Linked DNA regions of Homo sapiens: regions 1, 2, 3 and 4 are each linked to region 5. The links are contacts of gene promoters, found by promoter capture Hi-C in blood cells and fetal thymus (Javierre and others, 2016). All regions are on one chromosome and are shown on one strand. Each heading gives the region's core, a stretch centred on a gene start or on the middle of the fragment in contact. The rest is flanking DNA. Distances are from core to core; before and after follow the strand shown. Region 1 has its middle 6.5 kb from the start of ACBD6. Region 2 has its middle 28 kb from the start of ZNF648. Region 3 overlaps ACBD6 (acyl-CoA binding domain containing 6). Region 4 has its middle 11 kb from the start of OVAAL. Region 5 holds the start of IER5 (immediate early response 5).

The links. The method cuts DNA at HindIII sites, captures the fragments that hold promoters and counts their contacts. A CHiCAGO score of 5 or more calls a contact.
Region 1: a contact is called between a fragment that was not itself captured here and the fragment with the promoter of IER5 in region 5, in 4 of 17 cell types (fetal thymus, megakaryocytes, activated CD4 T cells and 1 more). The highest score is 7.7, in fetal thymus.
Region 2: a contact is called between a fragment that was not itself captured here and the fragment with the promoter of IER5 in region 5, in 1 of 17 cell types (non-activated CD4 T cells). The highest score is 6.3, in non-activated CD4 T cells.
Region 3: a contact is called between a fragment that was not itself captured here and the fragment with the promoter of IER5 in region 5, in 1 of 17 cell types (naive B cells). The highest score is 6.0, in naive B cells.
Region 4: a contact is called between a fragment that was not itself captured here and the fragment with the promoter of IER5 in region 5, in 1 of 17 cell types (naive B cells). The highest score is 6.0, in naive B cells.

The regions. Positions count from the first base shown.
Region 1 is chr1:180,507,682-180,510,381 of GRCh38, forward strand. No RefSeq gene overlaps it. Among named protein-coding and RNA genes, the nearest start is that of ACBD6, 6.5 kb to the left of the region's middle. The HindIII fragment of the contact is 2,352 bases long and covers 115-2,466 here.
Region 2 is chr1:182,032,316-182,035,015 of GRCh38, forward strand. No RefSeq gene overlaps it. Among named protein-coding and RNA genes, the nearest start is that of ZNF648, 28 kb to the right of the region's middle. The HindIII fragment of the contact is 1,856 bases long and covers 357-2,212 here.
Region 3 is chr1:180,491,245-180,493,944 of GRCh38, forward strand. It overlaps ACBD6 (acyl-CoA binding domain containing 6), which reads right to left. Exons shown (of 8, transcript NM_032360.4): 3 at 1,025-1,121. Among named protein-coding and RNA genes, the nearest start is that of ACBD6, 10 kb to the right of the region's middle. The HindIII fragment of the contact is 530 bases long and covers 1,115-1,644 here.
Region 4 is chr1:180,547,065-180,549,764 of GRCh38, forward strand. No RefSeq gene overlaps it. Among named protein-coding and RNA genes, the nearest start is that of OVAAL, 11 kb to the right of the region's middle. The HindIII fragment of the contact is 2,320 bases long and covers 289-2,608 here.
Region 5 is chr1:181,087,285-181,089,984 of GRCh38, forward strand. IER5 (immediate early response 5) reads left to right here and starts at 1,416. Exons shown (of 1, transcript NM_016545.5): 1 at 1,416-2,700. The coding sequence starts at 1,619. The coding sequence ends at 2,602. It overlaps LOC124904465 (a long non-coding RNA gene), which reads right to left and starts at 1,217. Exons shown (of 2, transcript XR_007066762.1): 1 at 991-1,217; 2 at 513-586. RefSeq lists silencers at 1,195-1,464, 1,775-1,934, 2,135-2,354. The HindIII fragment of the contact is 13,735 bases long and covers 1-2,700 here.

The DNA of each region.
Region 1 (2,700 bases), core at 41-2,540, 580 kb before region 5:
ACATAATACATATACAAAATATGTGTTACTCAACTGTTTGTGTTCTTGGCATGGCTTGCAGTCAACAGTAGTTGACTGCTTAGGGGTCGATCCCCTTATTGCTGAGTTGTTCAAAGCTTAACTGTTTATGTTTCTTTGAATCCCAAGAAAAATCAGCCAAGAAATCAGGAAGTCAAAAGAAAGTATTACAGTTCTGCAGGAATTGAAGTTTAGCAGTCAACATACACTGATTCAAACAAACCCGCTAACAAGTGAAAAGCAATGGCAGGAAACACTGACAAATGGAGTCTAAAGTGAGCAGAAAAAGGAGCAGGCAGGAAAGAAGTAGTGAAGATCTAATCAGTCTGGCTCATGATGGTGGCCATGTTGCATATGGTGTTCACAGCCCCATCTTCTGGTAACAATGAGTCATTCTTGCAAGTAAAATAAATATTGATGACATGATATGCATAATAAATAAAATTCTATGAGTCATGTTCTAAGAAATTAGAAGCAAAATAAGTCCTCAAACTGGCAATTTGTTTAAGTGATGCTGAGTAGTTCTATTAACCTTGCTAGAAGGTCTGAATGTTATGTTATTAGAATACTACCCAACAATGTTGTGGCATTTTCCAGTGTTTATATTCATTATAAACTACAGTTCTAAGTATTTCAAGAAGAAATGCAAAGAGAAAAATATGTGATTGTTGTAAAATGCTTCCCAACATAACATCTGAACTGATCTAAACATCTGAATTAACAAAAGTCATAATGAGAGGTGACGACCTACTGGCAGCCCTCACAGAGGGCTGGCTGTCAGCACCTCCTCGGCCTCGGCAGTGCTTGAGGAGCCCTTCAGCCTGCCGCTGCACTGTGGGAGCCCCTCTCTGGGCTGGCCAAGGCTAGAGCCGGCTCCCTCTGCTTGCAGGGAGGTGTGGAGGGAGAGGAGCAGGCTGGAACCGGGGCTGCGCGTGGCGGTCGCAGGCCAGCGTGAGTTCCAGGAGGGCATGGGATCTGTGGGCCCTGCACTTGGAGCGGCAGACCGGAAACACTGGCCCCGGGCAGTGAGCGGCTTAGCACCTGGGCCAGCAGCTGCAGAGGGTGGGCCGGGTCCCCCAGCAGTACCGGCCCACCGGCACTGCACTCGGATCCTCACAGGGCCGCAGCTGCTTCCCTGCAGGACAGGGCTCAGGACCTGCAGCCCACCATGCCCGAGCCTTCCCCCACCCCGCCATGGGCTCCTGCGCAGCCCTAGCCTCCCCAACGAGTGCCGCCCCCTGCTCCGCAGCACCCGGTCCCATCTACCGCCCAAGGGCTGAGGAGCCCGCAGGCACGCAGCGCTGGACTGGTTGAACAGCTCCGCCCGCTGCCCTGGCACGGGATCCACCAGGCGAAGCTGGCTGACCTCCTGAGTTGGTGGGGGGAGGTGGGACTTGGAGAACTTTTATGTCTAGCTGGAGGATTGTAAATGCACCAATCAGCACCCTGTGTCTAGCTCAAGGTTTGTGAATGCACCAATCAGCAGTCTGTATCTAGCTCAGGCTTTGTAAATGCATCAATCAGTGCTCTGTGTCTGGCTAATCTAGTGGGGGACTTGGAGAACTTTTGTGTCTAGCTCAGGGATTGTAAATGCACCAATCTGCACCCTGTCAAAACGGACCAATCAGCTCTCTGTAAAATGGACCAATCTCAGCAGGATGTGGGTGGGGCCAGATAAGAGAATAAAAGCAGGCTGCCAAGAGCCAGCTGCGGCAAGTCGCTCAGGTCTCCAGCTTAGTTGTTTTGCTCTCTGCAGTAACTCTTGCTGGTGCTAACTGTTTGGGTCCGCACTGTCTTTGTGAGCTGTGACACTCATGGCGAAGGTCTGCAGCTTCACTCTTGAGGCCAGCAAGACCACGAACCCACTGGGAGGAATGAACAACTCCAGACGCACCGCCTTGAGAGCTGTAACACTCACCGCCAAGGTCTGCAGCTTCACTCCTGAAGCCAGGGAGATCACGAACCCACCAGAAGGAAGAAACTCCAAACACGTCCGAACATCAGAAGGAACAAACTCCCGACACACCATCTTTAAGAACTGTAACACTCACCGTGAGGGTCCACGTTTTCATTCTTGAAGTCAGTGAGTTCAAGAACCCACCAATTGCAGACACAATAACTGTTTCAGTAGCATAACTGAAGTCAGGGCAACCAGACAAAATATTTTCCTCGTTACAAAAGTAACTGCACTGGGTTTAGTACAATTTAGGTTTTTGTGAAATATTGACATTTAAAAAATTTTTGTATCAATACCTTTTGAGGTATAAATTTTTTTTGTTATATGGATGAATAATGTAGTGGTGACTTCTGAGACTTTAGTGCACCTGTCACCCAAGTAGTGTACATTGTACTTAATATGTGGTTATTTATCTCTAACCCCATTCCCACCCTCCCCCTGCTGAGTCTCTAAACTCCATTATACCACTCTGTATGTCTTCATGTACTCAAAGCTTAGCTCCCGCTTACAAGCGAGAACATACAGGTTTTGGTTTCCCACTCCTGAGTTACTTCATTTAGAATAATGGCTTCCAGCTCCATACAAGTTGCTGCCAAAGACATTGTTTTATTCCTTTTCATGGCTGAGTGGTATTCCGTGGTGTCTATATACCACATTTTCTTTAGTCATTGGTTGATGGGCACTTAGGTTGGTTCCACATCTTTTGCATTTGTGCTACTATAAAT
Region 2 (2,700 bases), core at 35-2,534, 940 kb after region 5:
ACTTTACATGTGTTAAAAGAAAAACTTTAGACAAATTAAATTTACCAGTTTATTTGAGCAAAGAATGACTCAGGAATCATGCATCACTGAGAACCAAAAGTTCAGAGTGCTGCACAGTGTGAGCAATGGACTTTTATAGGCCCAACACAGAAGCAGAGGAGAGGAATCACCTGATTGGTTGGGCATGGTGGCTGATGCCTGTAATCCCAGCAACTCGATAGACTTACTAGGGAGGATTGCTTGAGCCCAGGAGTTTGAGGCTGCAGTGAGCTGTGATCACACCACTGCACTCCAGCCTGGGCAACAAAGCAACCCTCCTGCCCCCACCCTGACCCCATCTGCTGTACTTGTCAGTAAGCTTGCTTTGGGTTTATGAGATCCAATAAATATGGATTCATATCAAACTGTTTGTCTCACCTTATTCATCAGTTGACACCTATCAAAGGCATATCCCGGGCACTGTTCTGAACATGTGAGGACAAGAGATTCAAAATGCTAAAGGCTCACAATATCACAGCAAGATGCTATTGGGAATTAGAGAGACCAGCATGTTGCTAACAAGAAAACCTGCGTATGTGATTGCAGAATTCTACAGGTGGTCTTAAAGAAGTTTTCTCATGGGCCATATTCATATTCTGTGCTTTATTCAGCTTCATATTTTTTCTCTAGCAAGGTATCATCAAGAGTTTGCAGGAGGACATTGTTACTCTTGCTGAAATTCTGTCAGCAGGACTAAGGTTACATATTATCATGCCCCTTCTGCTTCCAATAACAAATGACCTTAAAAATAGCATGGCCTGAGATCTATGCCAAGAAAATATCCACATTATATTTGTAATTCACACTGTTCTGAAGTTGAATTTGTGATTATTATATTGAGACTATATTAAAATACTTCCCTAGTTGTATTTATTATGCTCATGAGATTTGGTGATTTATTATTAAACCTCTTAGAGTTAATTATGTTTATTGCCCCAGTCTTTTCTGAAGGAAACTTGGGAATTGTCTTTCTTATCCCTAATTAGGAAATTACAAAATGCTCTTCTGAGCACATGGGAATTGTTTTCCCTTGCTCCATGAGACTGACCCACCAGGTTTATTAAACAAAAACCTCTTTGATAACAGATCAAAATTTTAACTTTACTATTAAAATATATAAAGATATTCTATTAAATAGCAGATCAGCTTCACCCCTTCTAGTTCCTCATTTTACATTTTTGAGGGAAGAAGGGTTTTTTCCCTCTGGTTGAAAACATACTTTTTAAAAAAATAACAAAATTGCCAAGTTATAAATGTTGTATTAGTTTGCTAGGGCTGTAATAATAAAGTACTATAAGCTGGATGACTTAATAAAAATTTCACCTCTCAGTTCTGGAGGCTAGAAGTCTGATATCAAGGTGTCTTAAAAGTTGGTTCCTTTTAAGGGCTGTGAGGGGGAGTCTGTTCCAGGCCTCTCCCCCTTGGCTTTGTTAATGGCCATCTTCTCCCTATGTCTCTCCACGTTGTTATCCTTCTATTCATGTCTTTCTCTGTGCCCAAATTTATGCAATGGACTGAAAGTGTCCACCCTAAAATGCATATGTTGAAATCCTAATCCCGGTGGGATAATATTTGAAGGTGGGGCCTGTGGGAGGTGATCAGGTCATAAGGGTGGAGCCTCATGATTGAAATTAGTGCCTTTTATAAGAAGAGGTCCAAGAACTGCTAGCTCTCCTTCTGCCGTGTCATGATCCAATTAGAAGTCAGCAGCAGTCTGCAACCTGGAAGAGGACCTTCACCAGACCCTGACTCTGCTGGTGCCCTGATCTTAGACTTCCAAGCCTTCAGAATTGTGAGAAATAAATTTCTGTTGTTTATAAGCCATCCAGTTTATGGTACTTTGTTGGAACAGCCAAATGAATAAGACAATTTATATGAATAGACTTATGGTTCTGTGACTTGGTTTTTTCACTCAACATTTTCTAAACCTGTACTTACAGCTTCGCTTCATTCATCTTAACTGCTATTTAACATCCCATTATATTAATAAAACACAATTGATTTATGTATTCTTTTACTGATGAATATTTAAAATGTTTCCAAAGTTTTGCCATTACAAATTATGCTGCAATTAATATTCTTACATATATTTATAATCTCCTCATGTATACTTAAATTTCTTAAGGGGGAGTGGTCTCCTGCTATGCTGATTGTGTTGCCTCATCAATAAAAAAGCTTAACTGCTTATCCTCAATATGTCTCTATTTATAAATTATATAAATGTCCTATTGTATTAACATGTAATACCCATTATCAAATGTAAATTTTTTCTTAAAAGATAAGTACAAAATTCTACTATTTTCTTCCCATATCCCATTTGAATTGCTAAGGTATAAGGTATAGATATATTGATGATTACTGATACTACTATCATATCATCATCATCATACTGTATTAATAGTATTATATCAATGTAATATTAAACATCATTATATTACTCTCCAAGAACTGTACCAATAATTTGCATTCCTTTTATCAGAGTATGAAAATTTCCATTTCTCCACATCCTTACCAACACTTGATGTAAATATGTACTTTTAACATTTTATTTTGAAAAAATTTCAAACTAGCAGAAAAGTTGTTAGAATAATACAATGACATCCTGTATAACCTCCACCTAGATTCACCAATTAATAACAGTTTGCTGCAGTTGCCTTTTTT
Region 3 (2,700 bases), core at 130-2,629, 600 kb before region 5:
TGTTTGGCCTTAATATTTTTATTGAAAAAAATTCAATTTGCATTTTTTACATGGTACAATGCAACCTCTATCTCACTGAAATACCTGTTAATCATTTAACAATATTCTTAAATAGTAACCTCACCTTTATTAAATTCTTTCTAGATGTTCTCCAATAAGTATATGAGAAAAACAGGGTATATTTAAGTGAACAATATCCAATGCTTCCAAAGTCCAAAGCAATCCCTTTTCCTGCTGGATTCCCTAGCATTTACATTATTATTGTTTTATACTATTAAAGATATATATTTTGATATGTTTTATCTTCTCTATTACACTTTAAACTACATAATGGCAGAAATCATGTCTTATTCATCTTTTATCCCTAATAAGCATTTTGCCCTTGCATAGAAAGTGATCATAAAAACGAAATCCAAGAGTAACCTTTTTTCCAGCATGATAATCTCAAGTTAAACTCTTTCCAATTCTTATGTAATTCAAATTTTTCTGCTTTCAAAAACTCTGCAACTCAGAGAAGTTCTCAGCATCAGTAGCTGGTTATATTACTATTTAAGTAATTATTATTAATTTTTTTCATTTTTCTGAGATGGAGTCTCACACTGTCACCCAGGCTGGAGTGCAGTGGCCTGATTTTGGCTCACTGCAGCCTCAGCCTCCCAGGTTCAATTGATTCCCCTGCCTCAGCTTCCTGAGTAGCTGGGATTACAGGTGTGTACCACCACGTCCAGCTAATTTTTGTATTTTTAGTAGAGATGAGATTTCACCATGCTGGCCAGGCCGGTCTTGAACTCTTACCTCAGGTGAACCACCTGGCTTGGCCTCCCAGAGTGCTGGGATTACAGGTATGAGCCACCACACCTGGCCAGCAATTATTTTATTAGATAAATATTACAATAACTTTAAAATATTTCAAGAAAGTAAAACTTTAAGCATGTTACTTAAAACTAAGTTTAGTTTTAGACATTTATTTCAGAGAAGGATCATAAGTTTTTGGAAAGTATTATTTATAATCATTAAGTCTTACCTGAGGATTCCAACCTGGATCTAGTTTTTTAACTACTGCGATATATTCCTGCATTGCTTGGCTGGGGCTTGAATCACCAAGTGCTTTCCAAGCTTCCCTACAATATGGAATATCCAAAATGGCCTGTCATTATGCAAATAACACAAACAGCATTTTTCTTATTATTAAAAAAACTGTATGCACATTTCAAGGGTCTCTGAATATAGAGATAATAAGCTATGGATAGAGAAGCTCTGTCTTTTTGCATTTACATTGGTCTAGAGCTATACAGACCTTATTGCCCTACCTAAGCAGTCTTTTCAGACATTTTTTTTCCTAATCGTCCTCCCCGTGAAATTTTAAAAACACAGATACAATGCATAGCTATTAAATTTTGAAAGACCACAAACCACTGTAATCTAAGATTTTATAATTTCCTCAAACAAAATTTCACCCCTATTGAGGATATATGATCTACAGACTAATAGAGATTATTCTCATAAATTAACTGTGCTTATGGCATTTTGGTCGTACAGAAACTAATCATCACATAAAAAACAATATTCCCAAGGAAAATGCATCAAACTTCTTACTAAGATACAAGAAATCCACCTTCCCTTTCTGCTGTTATCTCATCTATAAGCTTCTAGTAACTGATCCTGGGGACTTAGTCTGGGACTTCAAAAGTAAGGGATGGTGAGGGCAGAAATAAGAATACTGGCCAGGCTTGGTGGCTCACGCCTGTAATCCCAGCACTTTGGGAGGCTGAGGCAGGTGGACCACCTGAGGTCAGGAGTTTGAGACCAGCCTGGCCAACATGGTGAAACCCCATCTCTACTAAAGATACAAAAATTAGCCAGGCGTGGTGGTGTGCGCCTGTAGTCCAGCTACTCTGGAGGCCGAGGCAGGAGAATTGCTTGAACCTGGGAGGCAGAGGTTGCAGTAAGCTGAGATGGCACCACCACACTCCAGCCTGGGCAACAGAGCAAAATTCTGTCTCAAAAAAAAAAAAAAAAAAAAAAAAAAAAAAACAACAACAGCAACTAAAGAATACTAATGAGTAAGTTAGGGACTTCCTACAATATAAATGGCAAAAGCAACATTTTAGTCCTGAGCTTCCTTTTGGGTCATCTACCCCCCTGCCCCCACAACAGGCTGCCAGGACAGGCCTTCTTCTTGGTTTTTCCCTGCCAATTCTTTCTAAATTCCAACCAGTGTTTCTCGATTTCCCTGATTTGCTGTCAAACAGAACTCAATCCCACATTTTTTCACTACCTTCCTGCTTCTATGATGAATATAATATCTTTCTGAGGTTTTCTAAATTTATTTTCACTGAATTCCTTAAGAATTACTTATACGCATCATAACACTTCATCCCTAAATAGATCAGCTTACACAAACTCAGGAAATTTATCATCAATTACTATTATACAATATAGAGGCTATACATTCAGATTTTCCTGATTGTCCCAATAATGTCCTTTATGGCTTTCTTCTCCCACACCAGGAACCAATCAAGATCCACACACAGCATTGAGTTTCATGTATCTTCAGCTTTTTTGTCTTCCACATTGTTGGTATTTTTTAAGAGTCCAACTGTTTTATAACATATCCCTCAATTTGAATTTGTCTAATTGTTTCCTTACCTACAGTGTTCTTGCCAAAAATGATTAATCATGATTAGAATTGGGTTAAAT
Region 4 (2,700 bases), core at 199-2,698, 540 kb before region 5:
CTGCCTGCCCCTCAACCCAGTTCTGCATCTGTGCCATTGCTTCTGTGCACCCTCTCTGCTTCCCCAACCTTCTTTAAATAGGTCATGCTATCTCCCACCAGAGGGCAATGGAATGAGTGTGTTAAGAATAGAATTCTGCAGATAAAGCCCACTCTGATTTTTTCACTGTTACCTGCTGTGTGTTTGGAGCCTGCTTGCCCATTGACCTGAGGCCTCACACCACTAGGCCTTTCCAGTGACTGCCTCACTGAGACCCTTTTGGATTTTCAATCCTGTAATGCTAATGAAAGCTTTATCCAATTGATGGCATCCCACTAATAACAATGTTGGCATGCATGGCCCTTTCATCTCCTCTTGGCTAGTGATAAAATAGTCTGCGATTCCAGCTGGAAACGATTTTGACTCAAGGGGTTTCTTGGCCAGAGGTAAATTGTTTCTTTATATCTATACTGGTGGCCATCTGAATTGTATAAGTTTAAACGTTTTTCTGTCAAAGAAAATATCTCAGATATAAAGTGTGACTTTTGGCTAAGGTATTCTAGGAGACAGAGAATGGTATCCAGGTTGGATTACTTAATATAAAAATAGAATCATATTCTCTTACTTGCATTTTTCTTCAAGCCATTTTGTTGACACACAGTACCAAAAGCATTTCAGAGGTCAGTAGCAGGCATCTGAATACCCTCAAATGAAGCAACAACAAACAATCAACTAGTAAATACTATTTTTAAGGGATTTTTTTTTGAGGTGGAGTCTTGCTCTGTCACCCAGCCTGGAGTGCAGTTGTGTGATCTCGGCTCACTGCAACCTCCGCCTCCCGGGTTCAAGCGATTCTCCTGCCTCAGCCTCCCGAGTAGCTGGGATTACAGACGTGTGCCACCATGCCTGGGGAATTTTTGTATTTTTAGTAGAAAAGGGGTTTCACCACGTTGGCCAGGCTGGTGTCAAACTCCTGACCTTAGGTGATCCACCCGCCTCAGCCTCCCAAAGTGCTGGGATTACAGGCATGAACCACTGCGCCCGGCCTAAGGGATTTTAAGGCAGCAAAAAACCCAGTTTCAGGCTCTGCCTTCTTAAACACAGCCATATAAGACAGATTAGGATAAAAAAATATAGACCCATATTCATTTAAGATATGCAGATAGAAATTGCCAAGTATTAGTGCCATGCACAGGGTTTAAGGTGACCAATTGCCTCAGTTTTCCCAGTACTGTCTGGGTTTTAGCACTGTAAGTCCCACATCCCAGGAAACACCTTGGTCCCAGGCAAACTGGAACATTTGGTCACCCAAGAGCAGGCCAAGTCACAGAACTCAGGCCATGGCCAAAATGAATAGACTGTTCAGGTATTTTTATGGTTGATGTATATTATTTGTCTCAATTTATTTGTGTCTTAGTAAAAGAAGGGTTAAAATCTGAACCTCACGCTCAGAATTGTTGTAAGAAACTGCCTCAATTAGTCACTAGGCAATTTGCAAATGTGAGATGGTATGAAATTATAAATAATAGCTTGGAGTGATTTTAATGTAGCTAGTAGACCTAACCTGGCTGATGCCAAGGGTCTCGCTGTGTAACTATTAGAGCTTTGCCTATGAAGAAAATCTAGTCCATTGTGAGCAATTTCACATTTCTTTCGTTCCTGCTAATGCTAGGCCACCTCTCAGGACAATCCAGGGCAACCTTGGCTCCAATTTTGTCTAACCCGGCTGGATGCAGCCAAATTATGGGCTTCTTTTTAGGTGGAGCATATTTTTGTGGGCTGTGGGAGACCTGTAATTCTTTTTTTTTTTTCCCCTCGTGCAAACCATTTATAGCTTTGGGTGATGTAAAATCCACAGGGTGCCTACAACAGTGTCACGCAACCAAAGGGCTTCCCACATGATCCATCTGGGACACAGTGGAGCCAGGGCCTCACCCAAGTCTCTGTCCATCCACTTTCAACTCCTCCTGCCCTCCTCCCCCAATCTCCCAAGTGGGGCAGCAGCCCACAGAGCCTTTTACTTCTTTCACCCGCTTGTGGTTCAGCGGCTTCAATTATCAGCCAGGTTTTCTTTTCATCGACAGAGCTATTGTTTGATGCTGTGCATTCATCCATCCATAAGCACCTCAAATCTGTCTGACTTGCTAGTTTCAGAACCATGGCAACAGCACAGCTTTGTGCAGGAGTCCTAGATTAGGAAGCAAAACCTCATTTTTAGGTCCAGCTCTGTCATAGCCTTGCTGAGATGTCTCAGGCAAATTGCCCCACCTCTCAGGACTTCCGTGTCCTCATTTATTAAATGAGAGGTTTGGATTAAATTAATTCTAAAGCACCTATAGCCTCTAAAATTCTATGATTCAATATAAGAGTGCTAACTGGCAGGGAAAATAGGAAAGAGAGGGAAGAGATTAAGAGATACAAAGCCCAGTAAGGTGGAAGCCAGGGCTAGCGCAAGATGCTCAGTCAAAGGGCTGGCCAACCACTTACTGTTTAGAACAGAAATATGTGCTACTGGATTCTAAGGAGTTTGTTGGGCTATGGTGTGATTTTACTCTTTTCCCATCATCATCCAAAACTTTTAGTCAAAGGGCTACCCAACCAGCCTTCCCTTGGGGCTAATATGGAGCAAAGCTTACCGTGAAGTAAACAAAGATAACAGTAAAAAATTGGTTCTGGCCGGGCGTGGTGGCTCACCCCTTTAATCCCAGCACTTTGGGAGGC
Region 5 (2,700 bases), core at 166-2,665:
TCAGTTGTGGGCACAGGTAATGCTATTGAGCCATCACATCCTCTGGAGATTGTGAATTGGTCATGATCAAGCCCACTCTTCACTGGTATTTTTCCTAAATAAATTCATTGCTTGACCAACCCCGGGGCAGGATCAGGCCCAGGGTTCCACATGGACTCCAAGAAAGCAGTGCTTAGTTTTCTCATTCAGATTGTGGCTGAGAAGTTGTCATTTATCGTCTGTACAATAACGCAGATGTGTATGTGACTTCCCCCTTTTCAGCAGTGGAGACACTGAAGCGGCCTGAGGTTATTTACCCAGAGTCCTCAGGCAGGTCTGTGGTGGAGCTTCGGTGGAACTAACTGGAAGTGACTCCATGTTTCCAGTCCAGGACCCTGGGCAACCCCGTGGTAATTGTGTCCTGATATACTTATAAGGACCAGTAGATGGACTAAGTTGTTGACTGACCAGAAAATTCTGGAACTCCCTAGCACTATATTTTTACCTTGACACGAAATGAAATTATGACATCATCATGGGAACACAGGACTTCTTTCTTTTTATTTTCAGAACTTGCTCGATTTTTCCAAGGGTGGACTGGTCAGTCCTTGTAATGGAAAAATGGAAATGGAAAAAAAAAAGGAAAAAAAAATCATTGTGGAGAACCTGTAACATCTTCCATTTAACTTATTTGATAACTGGGTTTGTTCTAGAATCTAGAGAACAAAGTGAAAGATGCCAGCTTTAGAGGACAACCAATAACTTTGTATCTAGACACGATTCCTTGAAAAGAAGCCAAAAACCTAGGCAAAAACTTTTAGAATCCCCCTTTTCTTTGGGGTTAGAACTGACAGCTGCTAAGAGTGTATGTGACTCTAGCGGGGAAAGCGGCTCATCCAAAAATAATGATTGCCAAATACTTTGCAGTAATACTATTTGTTATCCAGGGGTGTCCTCCGCCGCGTATGGCCACCATCTCTATTTTTGCCAGGGTTGAGGGGGGTCGCTTACAGGTGTGGCCGGCCTGGAAACGGTGGTGTGGCTGGTGAGGGCGGAGTCGATCAGGGAAGGATCAGGACTTTATGGCAGAACAGAGTCCACCACCGTGTTCGGAAGAAAGTTCGAATATTTTGTTCGCTTTGGTTCCGGCAAGCCATCGCACAAGCCAGAATCTGTAACTCCAAACAGTAGCGCTCTCGAGCACCGTCCCGAACATTCACTCCCCACGGGCCTGGTCTGCGGCCGCAAGCCGTCGCCCCCTTTAAGAGCCTGCTCCGCGGGACTAACGTTCGAACGGGCCCTGGCGCCCCTCCTCGGGCTCCGATTGGCCGTGCGCGGCGCACGAGGGCGCGCCGGCCAGCCCCGGAACGGTTGGCGGCCCTTCGTGATTGGCGGTCGAGAAGCCTATATAAGGCGCGGGGCAGCCAGGCTGCCCTGTTTAGCGACCGGACCCGAAACGGGGAAGTTGTCTTGTTTGGAGAGGTTAGTAGAGCAGCGCGCGCGTCACCAGAGTCGTTTCTCTTCGGAGTCTTAGGTGATCGAGGGTGTGCCCAGGGGGCGGACTTGTTTGCGCCTCCCGTTCCCTCCCAATTTCCAAACGTGTCACCCCGGCGCCGACGGCCCTGTGCAGGGGAAGCAGATGGAGTTCAAGCTGGAGGCTCATCGCATCGTCAGCATCTCTCTGGGCAAGATCTACAACTCGCGGGTCCAGCGCGGCGGCATCAAGCTGCATAAGAACCTCCTGGTCTCGCTGGTGCTGCGCAGCGCCCGCCAAGTCTACCTGAGCGACCCGTGCCCCGGCCTCTACCTGGCCGGTCCCGCTGGGACCCCGGCGCCGCCACCGCAGCAGCAGCCCGGGGAGCCGGCGGCCGGGCCACCCGCCGGCTGGGGAGAGCCGCCCCCGCCCGCCGCTCGTGCCTCTTGGCCGGAGACCGAGCCGCAGCCGGAGCGCTCCTCCGTCTCAGACGCGCCGCGGGTAGGGGACGAGGTGCCGGTGGCCACGGTGACTGGAGTCGGGGACGTTTTTCAGGGCGGAGAGGCGGACGCGACGGAAGCTGCCTGGAGCCGCGTGGAGGGGCCGCGCCAGGCGGCGGCCAGAGAAGCCGAGGGTACCGCCGGAGGCTGGGGCGTCTTCCCCGAGGTATCTCGTGCCGCGCGCCGCCCCTGCGGCTGCCCCCTAGGCGGGGAGGACCCGCCGGGTACACCGGCCGCGACCCCCCGCGCTGCCTGCTGCTGCGCGCCGCAACCAGCGGAGGACGAGCCCCCCGCGCCGCCCGCGGTGTGCCCCAGGAAGCGCTGCGCGGCGGGGGTGGGCGGCGGCCCAGCGGGCTGCCCGGCGCCCGGCTCGACCCCGCTCAAGAAGCCCCGCCGGAACTTAGAGCAGCCGCCGAGTGGAGGAGAGGACGACGACGCGGAGGAGATGGAGACCGGGAACGTGGCTAACCTCATCAGCATCTTCGGTTCCAGTTTCTCGGGACTCCTACGGAAAAGCCCCGGGGGCGGCAGAGAGGAAGAGGAGGGAGAGGAGAGCGGTCCGGAAGCCGCCGAGCCCGGGCAGATCTGCTGCGATAAGCCGGTGCTGAGAGACATGAACCCCTGGAGCACAGCCATCGTGGCCTTCTGAGCCCTTGGCCCCCCTGCGGGGAGGAGGTGGAGCAGCGGGCGTCCCCGAAGTGAGGGCCAGGCCCTTCCCGGCTGCGAGGACGCCCAGAGACCGCGGGC